2 separate regions of the Homo sapiens genome follow, and region 1 is linked to region 2. The links are contacts of gene promoters, found by promoter capture Hi-C in human tissues and cell types (Jung and others, 2019). All regions are on one chromosome and are shown on one strand. Each heading gives the region's core, a stretch centred on a gene start or on the middle of the fragment in contact. The rest is flanking DNA. Distances are from core to core; before and after follow the strand shown. Region 1 overlaps MTMR6 (myotubularin related protein 6). Region 2 holds the start of PABPC3 (poly(A) binding protein cytoplasmic 3).

Evidence for each region. Contacts are between HindIII fragments. The study calls those that stand out against the background at their distance.
Region 1: a contact is called between a fragment that was not itself captured here and the fragment with the promoter of PABPC3 in region 2, in 1 of the 25 tissues and cell types used here (dorsolateral prefrontal cortex).

Annotation. Positions count from the first base shown.
Region 1 is chr13:25,268,445-25,274,463 of GRCh38, forward strand. MTMR6 (myotubularin related protein 6) reads right to left here. Exons shown (of 14, transcript NM_004685.5): 2 at 5,627-5,743. Among named protein-coding and RNA genes, the nearest start is that of MTMR6, 16 kb to the right of the region's middle. The HindIII fragment of the contact is 5,889 bases long and covers 53-5,941 here.
Region 2 is chr13:25,093,681-25,099,318 of GRCh38, forward strand. It overlaps PABPC3 (poly(A) binding protein cytoplasmic 3), which reads left to right and starts at 2,456. Exons shown (of 1, transcript NM_030979.3): 1 at 2,456-5,574. The coding sequence starts at 2,519. The coding sequence ends at 4,414. It overlaps LOC124900613 (a long non-coding RNA gene), which reads left to right and starts at 1,940. Exons shown (of 3, transcript XR_941762.3): 1 at 1,940-1,979. RefSeq lists a silencer at 2,371-2,665. The HindIII fragment of the contact is 11,758 bases long and covers 1-4,972 here.

The DNA of each region.
Region 1 (6,019 bases), core at 1,747-4,246, 180 kb after region 2:
TCCTCAAATGCACCGAGCTCCTTTACACATGGTCAGATGCTCCCACTAACTGGAATACTGTTAACACTACCTCTTCATCTAAGAACTTCTAGACACATTTCTGGTCTTTGCTCAAAACTCATAATAACACCAAAAGCGTAGCCTGACATGCCCCACAACCCTTTCCAAGTAAGTTAGGCCCCCTCCCTTTTCTTCCTGCAGATCAAGCTATACTTTTCCTTCACAGTGAAGGCCACTGTGAGGATGCCAGCTGCAGTGGGGGAGGTGCAGCCAGGGTTGCGCGCTCTGCAGAGCAGGCAAGACCTGGGAACAGGTGATCCCAGTGGAAGCCCCATACCCTACCGAGTTGGCAGGGCAGGAGCCACACTCCCGGGCACAGCTGCAGCCGCCCAGCCATGGCTCTGGACCCAGGCATCCCTGTGCTCTTGGGGGCCTAGGAAACCCCCTCCCCCTGCAGGTTCAGAAGTGCCTGCTCCCACTCCCTGGCCTCTCCCAACTCCCACTGCCTGTTCTGTGGTAGAGCAAAGTTGTGGACATGTCCCAATAGCCAAGCCCAGATACTGTCGTGATCTAGCTGGGTGTGCATGTGCTTGGGGCGGTACTGACACACCAGCCCCTAGCTGCCTTGGCCCCTCTGGAAACTGCTTCTGAGGCTGAAATTTTGGGTGCCCATGAGCACAGGAGGGAGGCTGAGGACCTTGGGGGTGGCATGGTGCAGAGTTGATCAACATTACATCTCCAGCACCTAACACAGTACCTGGAACATTATAATTGCCCTCCTCAAATCAAAAAGCTTGCAAATGTTATATATCACACACTTCAACTTTAATTTTTTAAATGTGAATGCCCAAGCCAGAAATATGGATGTCATCCCTGATACCTCCTTTATCACAATAAGAGTTTACTAAATGAATGAATAAAAAGTCCTACTATAAACTCAATACTTGATGGTATTTTAAACATATGCTTATTGTTCTCACCTACTACCAATAATATTTTGTTTGCTACTAAAAATGCCTACTTTTTCTTAATAACACTCCTATTAAAATATTTATAGAAAACTTTTCTGGAGAATAAAAGATCATAGGCTCCTAATCATGCAAGAGATCCATTTATCCCAAATTAATCTAAAAATTCAACATAAATTTCAGTTTAAAAATTCCAATCTGCTTTGTTTTGTAGTGAGGGATGATTATTTATATAATACACATATATTATGTAATTATTACATTATATGTTAATATTAATTATACATCTTAAATCTAAAGTTCACCTGCAAAATTAAATGCATTTAAATAATCAAGAAAAGCTTGAAAAACAATGAGAGAAGCAGTTGTCAATGGAAATTAAAACTACATAGAGAACAAATAATTAACACACACACACACATATATAGTCCTTACGGCTAAGATTTAGCACCATTATCACTTATATTAATGCGCCTGTGACAAGTTACTAAAAATGATCTAATAATAACATTTAAACAGAGAATAAGGAATAAAAGCTAACTGTAATATTACAAGTTGAGAACCCTTTATCCAAAATGTTTGGGACTAGAAGTATTTCAAATTTTGGATTTTTAAAGATTTTGGTATATTTGCATTATACTTATCAATTGACATCCCTAATCTGAAAATCTGAAATCTGAAATGCTCCAATGAGCATTTCCTTTGAACATCATGTCAGTGCTGAATTTTTGGATTGGGGATATTCAACCTGTACATCACTGTTCTGATTTTAATTATAAAAACCCAAAAGTATTTGCAGGAAGAAAATGATGAAGAAACCTGGTCCTACCACTAACTAGTTATGTGATTTTGAAAACATAATCAACTGTAAAGTGAGAAAAAGGATATAAGGTTGATACGGCCCCTTCTGGATCTAAAATGTTCATTTCTATGGCTCTAGTATATTAAACAAACTTCATTTAGGGCAAACATAAGGGAATATACTGATAAGAAAGCATTTAAAAGACAACAATAGGAGAGTAGAGAATAACACAGATATCTTTTTGTTGCCCCTCAAACTACATTCCCAGCAGCTGAGGGAATAGCTATACGGGAAGCCTTCATTTATATCTCTACGAGATGGATAATAGAGAAAATACTGAAGCAAGTGGACAAAGGAGGGGTAGATGGAGTGGATGATAATATGACTAATTATTTCAGAAGGTACTGCTAGGTAAAATTCCTGGCAATTCTTGGACAAACACTGGATGAAGAAGGGATCCAGTGCCTCTAGGGAATACAACTTCTCCAAGATCAGTATCTCAAGTGAGTTTCCTTAACAGCTGATATAGAATCATATATCAATTGGTTAGCCTTCTTGGGGAAATCAGAAGAGTACAATCAAAGAGAGAAAGAGAAGAGAACAGTATGACAGTATGTGCAGTACAGGGGTGTACCACAGAGCAACATCAATCTCTGGACTGGGAGGCATAATTGACCTCTAATCTTGATTCAACTGCTTAGAAAAATAGTATGAGCAGCTATGATTTACGCCACTACTATGTTTTACGCACAGATGTTTTTCATATTTTCTTTCATCTAAGACTCACAAAAGCCCTACATGATGACTGATGCTATATACCCATTTTATGTGGGTGCTAAGCTCGAAAGTTACATACTTTTTGGCAGACACTGTTGGTCTGCCATTCCTCCCCCCCTTCCTTACTTGCAACATCCTTTTCCCTCAAGAGATAAAAAATACTAGGATCTACATTCTCTGCCTCCTTTTCAGGTAGGAGTAGCCAAGTGTCCGGATTTTCAAACAATCAGATGTTAGGGAAAGTTAGCTGGGGGCCTTCTGAGAGAGCTTCTCCTCCCTGATAAGCAATGGGGCTACTGAGGAAAGCCTACCCACCTCTCCTGCTTTGCAAGGTTTGGCACCATGTTCAGTCAGGTATTCATTTACTTACAGCCAAAAGCACCCTGACATAGTCACCCAAGCAGTGAACAGCAGAGCTGACATTTGAACCCAAAGCTACCTGACAACACAGTCTACGTGAGCTCATTTTACTACTCTACACTGCCTGTGTAACAATGAATGAATTGCCACTTGCCTGAGCTTCAGCTTCTTCATCTATAAAGTGGAGGTTCTAAAAGCTGGCAGAGCTAGTGGCACAGAAACATGCCCAAGTCTCTTCCTCTCAGGCACAGAGACACAAGCCCCATATTCTAACCACCTTTCCTACTTCTTTTTCTGCTTAGCACTTATCACTATGTATTTTACTTATCTACCTACTTATTGGTGATGTTATCAATATCTTTCAGCACTAGAATGTTGGCTCCATGAGGATAGAATTTGTACCTGTTATTATTGGCTATTGTTTCCAAAATATCTAGAATAGTGATATGAAACACACTGTATATGCTCAATAAATGTGTGCTAAATGAATTCTAAAACAGAAAAGGAAGAACAAAGAATCCAAAATAGCCATGGCAATTTTGAAGAACAAGTTGGGAGGGTATGCTCTACTTGATATCAAAATTTATTTAAAAGCTATAGTCAATAAAACAGTGTGGTACAGTGTAGTCAGTATACCAAACGAATAGAAAAGAAAACTCAAAAGCAGAGCCTCACATACATGGAAGATGTTTTTATGACAGAGCTGGTACTAAAGACGAATGGAATGAAACAGTCAATAAATGGCGCCGGTCGTCTATACGAAAACATAAAAATGAATCCCTAGTCACATCATACACCAAAATATTTCCCAGATGTATTAACAACTTACAGGATCAAACTTAAGCTTTTAGAAGAAAATATAGAAGAACCTTTATGACTTTGACATAGGAAAGGATTTCTTAAGTCACAACAGAGCACAAACAATAAAAGAAAAAAATGAAAAATCTATAACATTAAAAATATAAACTTCAACTGAAAGACATATAAAATAAAAAACAGAGAAGACAAGCCACACACTGGGAAAAGCTATCTATGACACACACATCTGACAAAGCATTATAACCTAGAACTCTTTATTTGTTTTCTTGAATAATACTTTTTTTTTTAATTCAGTGGGTACATGTGCAGGTTTGTAATATGAATATACTGAATGATTCTGAGGTTTGAGCTTTGACTGAACCCATAGCCCAGACAGTGAACACAGTACCCAAGAGGTAGTTTTTCAACCCTTGTTCCTCTACTTCCCTCCCTCCCACCTCTATTAGTCTATTAATGTCTATTGTTCCCATCTTTGTGCTCGTATGTACCCAATGTTAAGCTCCCACTTATAAGTGAGAACACGCAGTATACGGTTTTTTGTTTGTGTTAATTCATTTAGAATAATGGCTTCCACCTGCATCCATGTTGCTGTAAAGGCCATGATTTTGTTCTCTTTTTATGGCTGTGGTGAATATGCACCACTTTTTCTTTATCCAATCCACTGCTAATGGGCACCTAGGTTGATTCCATAGCTTTGCTATTGTGAACAGCGCTGCAACAAACATGCAAATGCCCGTGTCTTTTTGGTTGATTTATTTTCCTTTGAGTATATATCCAGTAAAAGGATTGCTGGGTTGAATGGTAATTCTATTTGTAGCCCAGAACTTTTATAAAATCAATAAAAGACAAACAACCCAATAAAAAAAGAAAAGGAAACTCTTTCCTTTTTCTTTATCTGAAAAGGGTAAATTCTTTATAATCAGCTCATTAACATTACAATTGGACATCTACTAGATAGGCAAAAAATTTTAAATTGACAATATCAATGTTGTTGAGGATGTACAACATTGTGTAATACACTACTGAGAATAAATTGGAACAACCATTTTGAAGAGGTGACATACTTAGTAAGGTTATATATGCACTTATTCAAGACCCAATAATTTTACTCCCAGACAAATATCCCAGAGAAACTCTGGCAAATATACAGAAAGAAACATATACATATGTCTCATATAAATACACAAAATGTTGTTTACATGTATATGTACATTGCAACATTTATACTAGCAAAAAAAATAAGTACCCTAATTAAAATTTGTATAAAAACACTGTGGAATATACCAAACAATCCGTTTGATCTGTTAATGTGTACATATTTTTTAGATTTTTAAAAATTAAAAGGAACAATAGGATTTTTTTTTTTTTTTTTTGAGACAGAGTCTCACACTGTCACCCAGGCTGGAGTGCAATGGCGCGATCTCGGCTCACTGCAACCTCCGCCTCTCAAGTTCAAGCAATTCTCCTGCCTCACCCTCCCAAGTAGCTGGGATTACAGGCACCCATCGCCATGCCCAGCTAATTTTTTGTATTTTTAGTAGAGATGGGGTTTCACTATGTTGGCCAGGCTGGTCTTGAACTCCTGACCTCGTGATCCACCCACCTCGGCCTCCCAAAGTGCTGGGATTACAGGCGTGAGCCACCGCATCCGGCCTAGGAACAACAGGTATTTCATAATTATTTATGGAGATAAGAGTGTGGTATTTTATAGAATTCCATGTTACATATTCTATAACTGATTTATTAGAAGGGAGGGCAGGAGTGATCTGGAGACCAAAAAATATTTTGGTTGAGATAGGTAACCAATGATTAAAAATTGTGTTATACACATTCAAAATAAAACATGACAGACCAAGTCCATTATTATTATGATAAATAGTACAGCTGCGGTCCTCCTTACCCAGGTTTCTTTTTGATGAGAGTCGATAAATAATAGATGTGTAGCCGTAAGATACAGTGTTCCTGTTAATGACTTGTTGCTGGTACTGAATCGGTCAAGTAATTTTACTTGTTCGACCTAAAAGAAAAAAAGATATTATTTCTCATTTCAAAAGTAGTATAAATTATTTTTCTGTTAGCCCAGGACTTACATGCAACATTCTCAATTTTTTCTTCCTCCTAAAATCATAAGAGCTTATTTAATACTTACTGTTAAATTCCATATATCTTTTTGGGGAATGTATAAGCCACAAATAACATAGAGATTATTTACAGTTACAAATGTAACCAATAGAGAACCACATTGTAAAAAACAGTAACACTTATATTGAGGGTAGCAAGAAACAGGGGTACA
Region 2 (5,638 bases), core at 1,206-3,705:
GCACTTTGGGAAGCCGAGGTGGGTGGATTGCTTAAGCTCAGGAGTTGGAGAGCTCAGGAGTTCCAGACCAGCCTGGGCAATATGGCAAAACCCCATCTCTACCAAAAATACAAAAATTAGCTGGGTGTGGTGGCATGTGCCTCTAGTCCCAGCTACTTGGGAGGCTGAGGTGGGAGGATCTCTTAAGCCTGGGAGGTGAAGGCTGCAGTGAGCTGCGGCCACTGCACTCCAGCCTGGGCAACAGAGTGAGGCCCTGTCTTCAAAATAAAAATAATAATAATAATAAATAAATCCCTTCTATCTATTCAGTTCCTTTTCCTTCCAGACAAAATTTTTCCACACAAATCAATTTGTTTGCTAACTGCATCAGGATTTTCTCTAAACCATAATACAATCGGCAGATTAGTTGTCCAGTGGAAATAACCTTCTCCTGTATGGTCTAGGCTTGTTTTAAATGCTCTACCATCACTGGGCTTGGGATTGCAATCCTCAAAACTTCTGGGAAATCTGAAAATGAAGTTACAAATTAAATCATAGGTCTCCAAGAAGCCTGGAATTTTGATACATTCATCCCGGTTTTCTTCCACCCAAGTGTATATTCCGTGGGCTGTATCTGTGGGGAATCTGCTTTCCTGCCCATGAACACACCGAAATGGTTCTGCGAAGATGCCTTTCTCTGGAAGAGCATTTTGCTTTTGTTAATGAGGCAGAAAATCGATCTCATATTGTTGAGTAACCACACCCTTCCTAGCACTTGGTTTTTACAAGACCACATTGTTGAAATGATGGACGTGCTCCTAAAAAGCTGTGTATCAACTTCATTTTTAAACTTTTAATTGAATTTTATATTAGTGGCAACCACTATTTAAAGAAACCCTCTACTCTAGGCTAGGCGCGGCGGCTCACGCCTGTAATCCCAGAGCTTTGGCAGGCGTAGGTGGGCGGATCACCTGAGGTCAGGAATTCTAGACCAGCCTAGCCAACAAGGCGAAACCCCGTTTCTACTAAAAACAATACAAAAATTAGCCAGGCGTGGTAGTGCCTGCCTGTAATCCCAGCTATTCGGGAGGCTGAGGCGCTAGAATCCCTTGAACCCGGGAGGTGGAGGTTGCGGTGAACCAAGATCGCACCACTGCACTACAGCCTGGGTGACAGAACGAGACTCTATCTAAACAAACAAACAAACAAAAAACCCTAAAATAAATTATTTGTAACATGAACAGAATGAACAGATCCTCCCCCAAACTGATATTTTTTGTGGGACTGGACCTTTCTTAAAGGATTTTCTTAAATAGAATTATTTCAGATCATCACTTACTTAGATGTGTAGCTATATTAGGTCACAAGATTGTGTACTTATAATCATAAAACGTATACTTAATAATGAATCCCAACCTGACCTCAAAAGACTATATCATATAATACTATATTAACATTACATATTTATTGGTCGGGCACGGTGGCTTACGCCTGTAATCCCAGCACTTTGGGAGGCCGAGGTGGGTGGATCACGAGGTCAGGAGTTCAAGATCAGCCTGGCCAAGATGGTGAAACCCCGTCTCTACTAAAAATACAAAAAATTAGCCAGGCTTGGTGGTGGGTGCCTGTAATCCCAGCTACTTTAGAAGCTGAGGCAGGAGAATCGCTTGAACCTGGGAGGTGGAGGTTGCAGTGAGCCGAGATCGCACCACTGCACTCCAGCCTGGGTGACAGAGCAAAACTCCGTCTCAAAAATAAATAAGTAAAATAAAAATAAATAAATGAAAAATAAAATTACATATTTATTATGTTTTATATTGTTATATAATATAAAAAGTCGGTTTTTCGGGGTTTTTTGTTTGTTTGTTTGTTTGTTTGAGATAGTCTCGCTCTGTCACCCAGACTAGAGGGCAGTGGCGCGATCTCTGCTCACTGCAACCTCCACCTCCCGGGTTCAAGCGATTCTCGTGCCTAGGCCTCCCGAGTAGCTGGGATTACAGGTGAGCACATCAAGCCCAGCTAATTTTTTGTAATTTTAGTAGAGACGAGGTAAAAAGTAGAAAATATTTTATAAAAATATATTTGTGTAAAGTAGAACATATATAAAAACATACTAAAGGAGAAAGGAGAAAAAAATTCTTTCATTTATTTTTTTCCCAGGCATTTTAAATTTGGATTATAAAAATCATTTTAGAAAAATCATTAATGCTCTTTTACAAAATAACCCGGTGAAGCAGCTGAGCCCGAGCCGCCCGCCAGCGGCCCCGCAGCAGCTCCAAGAAGGAACTAAGAGACCAAGGCCTTCCTGCTGCCCGGACCCGACACCGCTACCCTGGCTCCCCGCCGGCAGCCGGCAGCCAGCGGCAGCGGATCGACCCCGTTCTGCGGCCGTTGAGTAGTTTTCGATTTCGGCTGATTTTTGTCCCTCTGCGCTTGCCCCCGCTCCCCTCCCTCCGGCTACGCCCCCGGCCCCGGCACGCGCTCTACTCCTGTAACGGAAAGGTCGCGGCTTGTGTGCCTGCGGGCAGCCGTGCCGAGAATGAACCCCAGCACCCCCAGCTACCCAACGGCCTCGCTCTACGTGGGGGACCTCCACCCCGACGTGACTGAGGCGATGCTCTACGAGAAGTTCAGCCCGGCAGGGCCCATCCTCTCCATCCGGATCTGCAGGGACTTGATCACCAGCGGCTCCTCCAACTACGCGTATGTGAACTTCCAGCATACGAAGGACGCGGAGCATGCTCTGGACACCATGAATTTTGATGTTATAAAGGGCAAGCCAGTACGCATCATGTGGTCTCAGCGTGATCCATCACTTCGAAAAAGTGGAGTGGGCAACATATTCGTTAAAAATCTGGATAAGTCCATTAATAATAAAGCACTGTATGATACAGTTTCTGCTTTTGGTAACATCCTTTCGTGTAACGTGGTTTGTGATGAAAATGGTTCCAAGGGTTATGGATTTGTACACTTTGAGACACACGAAGCAGCTGAAAGAGCTATTAAAAAAATGAACGGAATGCTCCTAAATGGTCGCAAAGTATTTGTTGGACAATTTAAGTCTCGTAAAGAACGAGAAGCTGAACTTGGAGCTAGGGCAAAAGAGTTCCCCAATGTTTACATCAAGAATTTTGGAGAAGACATGGATGATGAGCGCCTTAAGGATCTCTTTGGCAAGTTCGGGCCCGCCTTAAGTGTGAAAGTAATGACCGATGAAAGTGGAAAATCCAAAGGATTTGGATTTGTAAGCTTTGAAAGGCATGAAGATGCACAGAAAGCTGTAGATGAGATGAATGGAAAGGAGCTCAATGGAAAACAAATTTACGTTGGTCGAGCTCAGAAAAAAGTGGAACGGCAGACGGAACTTAAGCGCACATTTGAACAGATGAAGCAAGATAGGATCACCAGATACCAGGTTGTTAATCTTTATGTGAAAAATCTTGATGATGGTATTGATGATGAACGTCTCCGGAAAGCGTTTTCTCCATTTGGTACAATCACTAGTGCAAAGGTTATGATGGAAGGTGGTCGCAGCAAAGGGTTTGGTTTTGTATGTTTCTCCTCCCCAGAAGAAGCCACTAAAGCAGTTACAGAAATGAACGGTAGAATTGTGGCCACAAAGCCATTGTATGTAGCTTTAGCTCAGCGCAAAGAAGAGCGCCAGGCTTACCTCACTAACGAGTATATGCAGAGAATGGCAAGTGTACGAGCTGTGCCCAACCAGCGAGCACCTCCTTCAGGTTACTTCATGACAGCTGTCCCACAGACTCAGAACCATGCTGCATACTATCCTCCTAGCCAAATTGCTCGACTAAGACCAAGTCCTCGCTGGACTGCTCAGGGTGCCAGACCTCATCCATTCCAAAATAAGCCCAGTGCTATCCGCCCAGGTGCTCCTAGAGTACCATTTAGTACTATGAGACCAGCTTCTTCACAGGTTCCACGAGTCATGTCAACGCAGCGTGTTGCTAACACATCAACACAGACAGTGGGTCCACGTCCTGCAGCTGCTGCTGCTGCTGCAGCTACCCCTGCTGTGCGCACGGTTCCACGGTATAAATATGCTGCGGGAGTTCGCAATCCTCAGCAACATCGTAATGCACAGCCACAAGTTACAATGCAACAGCTTGCTGTTCATGTACAAGGTCAGGAAACTTTGACTGCCTCCAGGTTGGCATCTGCCCCTCCTCAAAAGCAAAAGCAAATGTTAGGTGAACGGCTCTTTCCTCTTATTCAAGCCATGCACCCTACTCTTGCTGGGAAAATCACTGGCATGTTGTTGGAGATTGATAATTCAGAACTTCTTTATATGCTCGAGTCTCCAGAGTCACTCCGTTCTAAGGTTGATGAAGCTGTAGCTGTACTACAAGCCCACCAAGCTAAAGAGGCTACCCAGAAAGCAGTTAACAGTGCTACCGGTGTTCCAACTGTTTAAAATTGATCAGAGACCACGAAAAGAAATTTGTGCTTCACCGAAGAAAAATATCTAAACATCGAGAAACTATGGGAAAAAAAATTGCAAAATCTAAAATAAAAAATGCAAAATCTAAAATAAAAAATGGAAAGGAAACTTTGAACCTTATGTACCGAGCAAATGCAAGGTCTAGCAAATATAATGCTAGTCCTAGATTACTTATTGATTTAAAAACAAAAAAAAGATTACTTAATTTTGATTTAAAAACAAAAAATCGTAAAATACAAAAACCAGTTAATGTTTTGTAGACCCTGGGAAAAGAATTTTCAGCAAAGTACAAAAATTTAAAGCATTCCTTTAATTTTTTAATTCTTTACTGTGGAATAGCTCAAAATGTCCATTCTGTTTTAAGTAACAGAATTGATAACTGAGCAAGGAAACATGGTTTGGATTATAAAATTCTTGCTTTAATAAAAATTTCTTAAACAGTGAAAAAAAGAAAAATCATCAATTTTACTAATAGTCTTTCTTTACATTTTCTATTATTCTATCTCCCACTATATTTCAAATATGAAAATCACTTTTTCACCAAAATTTTAGGTCTTTACATAATAGTGTTTATTTTTAATATTCATAAATGAAAATATGCAATGACAAAATAGTAATTATAAATTCAGTAACATTTGTTCAAAATTGTAAGACAATTATTAATTTATACTGCATTATTTTTAAATAAAAAATAAATACATAGTTTTAAAAATCTAATTGAACAGGAGGCTAAACATGGTTCTGATCACAGAGATAATCACTTTTAATCATTTGGTTTTAGTGTTTCTGGTAGTTGATTTTCTTCAATAATAATTGTACATAGTTATTTCTTGGTTTATCAATTTTGTAATTTAACTATTGACTTCCTGCTGTAACAAATAAGGATATGTTTCATCTACCTCTTCCCACCATCCCTCCTCCTCCTCCCAATATAATTTATCACTACTTGTAGCTCCTTTATTGGTAATATTAATTAATATAAATATTTATAATTAATGTTACACCTAGTGAATTGTATAAAAGGACAGCCCATTTGAGCATTCTCCTTTAAGATGAGTAGAGGCTGTGACATTGCACTACATAGAAATATAATTATACCATATTACTTTGCAATAAACTATGTATTATAGAGAGATGGTCACTATGTAATGTGGGTATAGCTATACACACACATACACACAAACATATAAATAATGT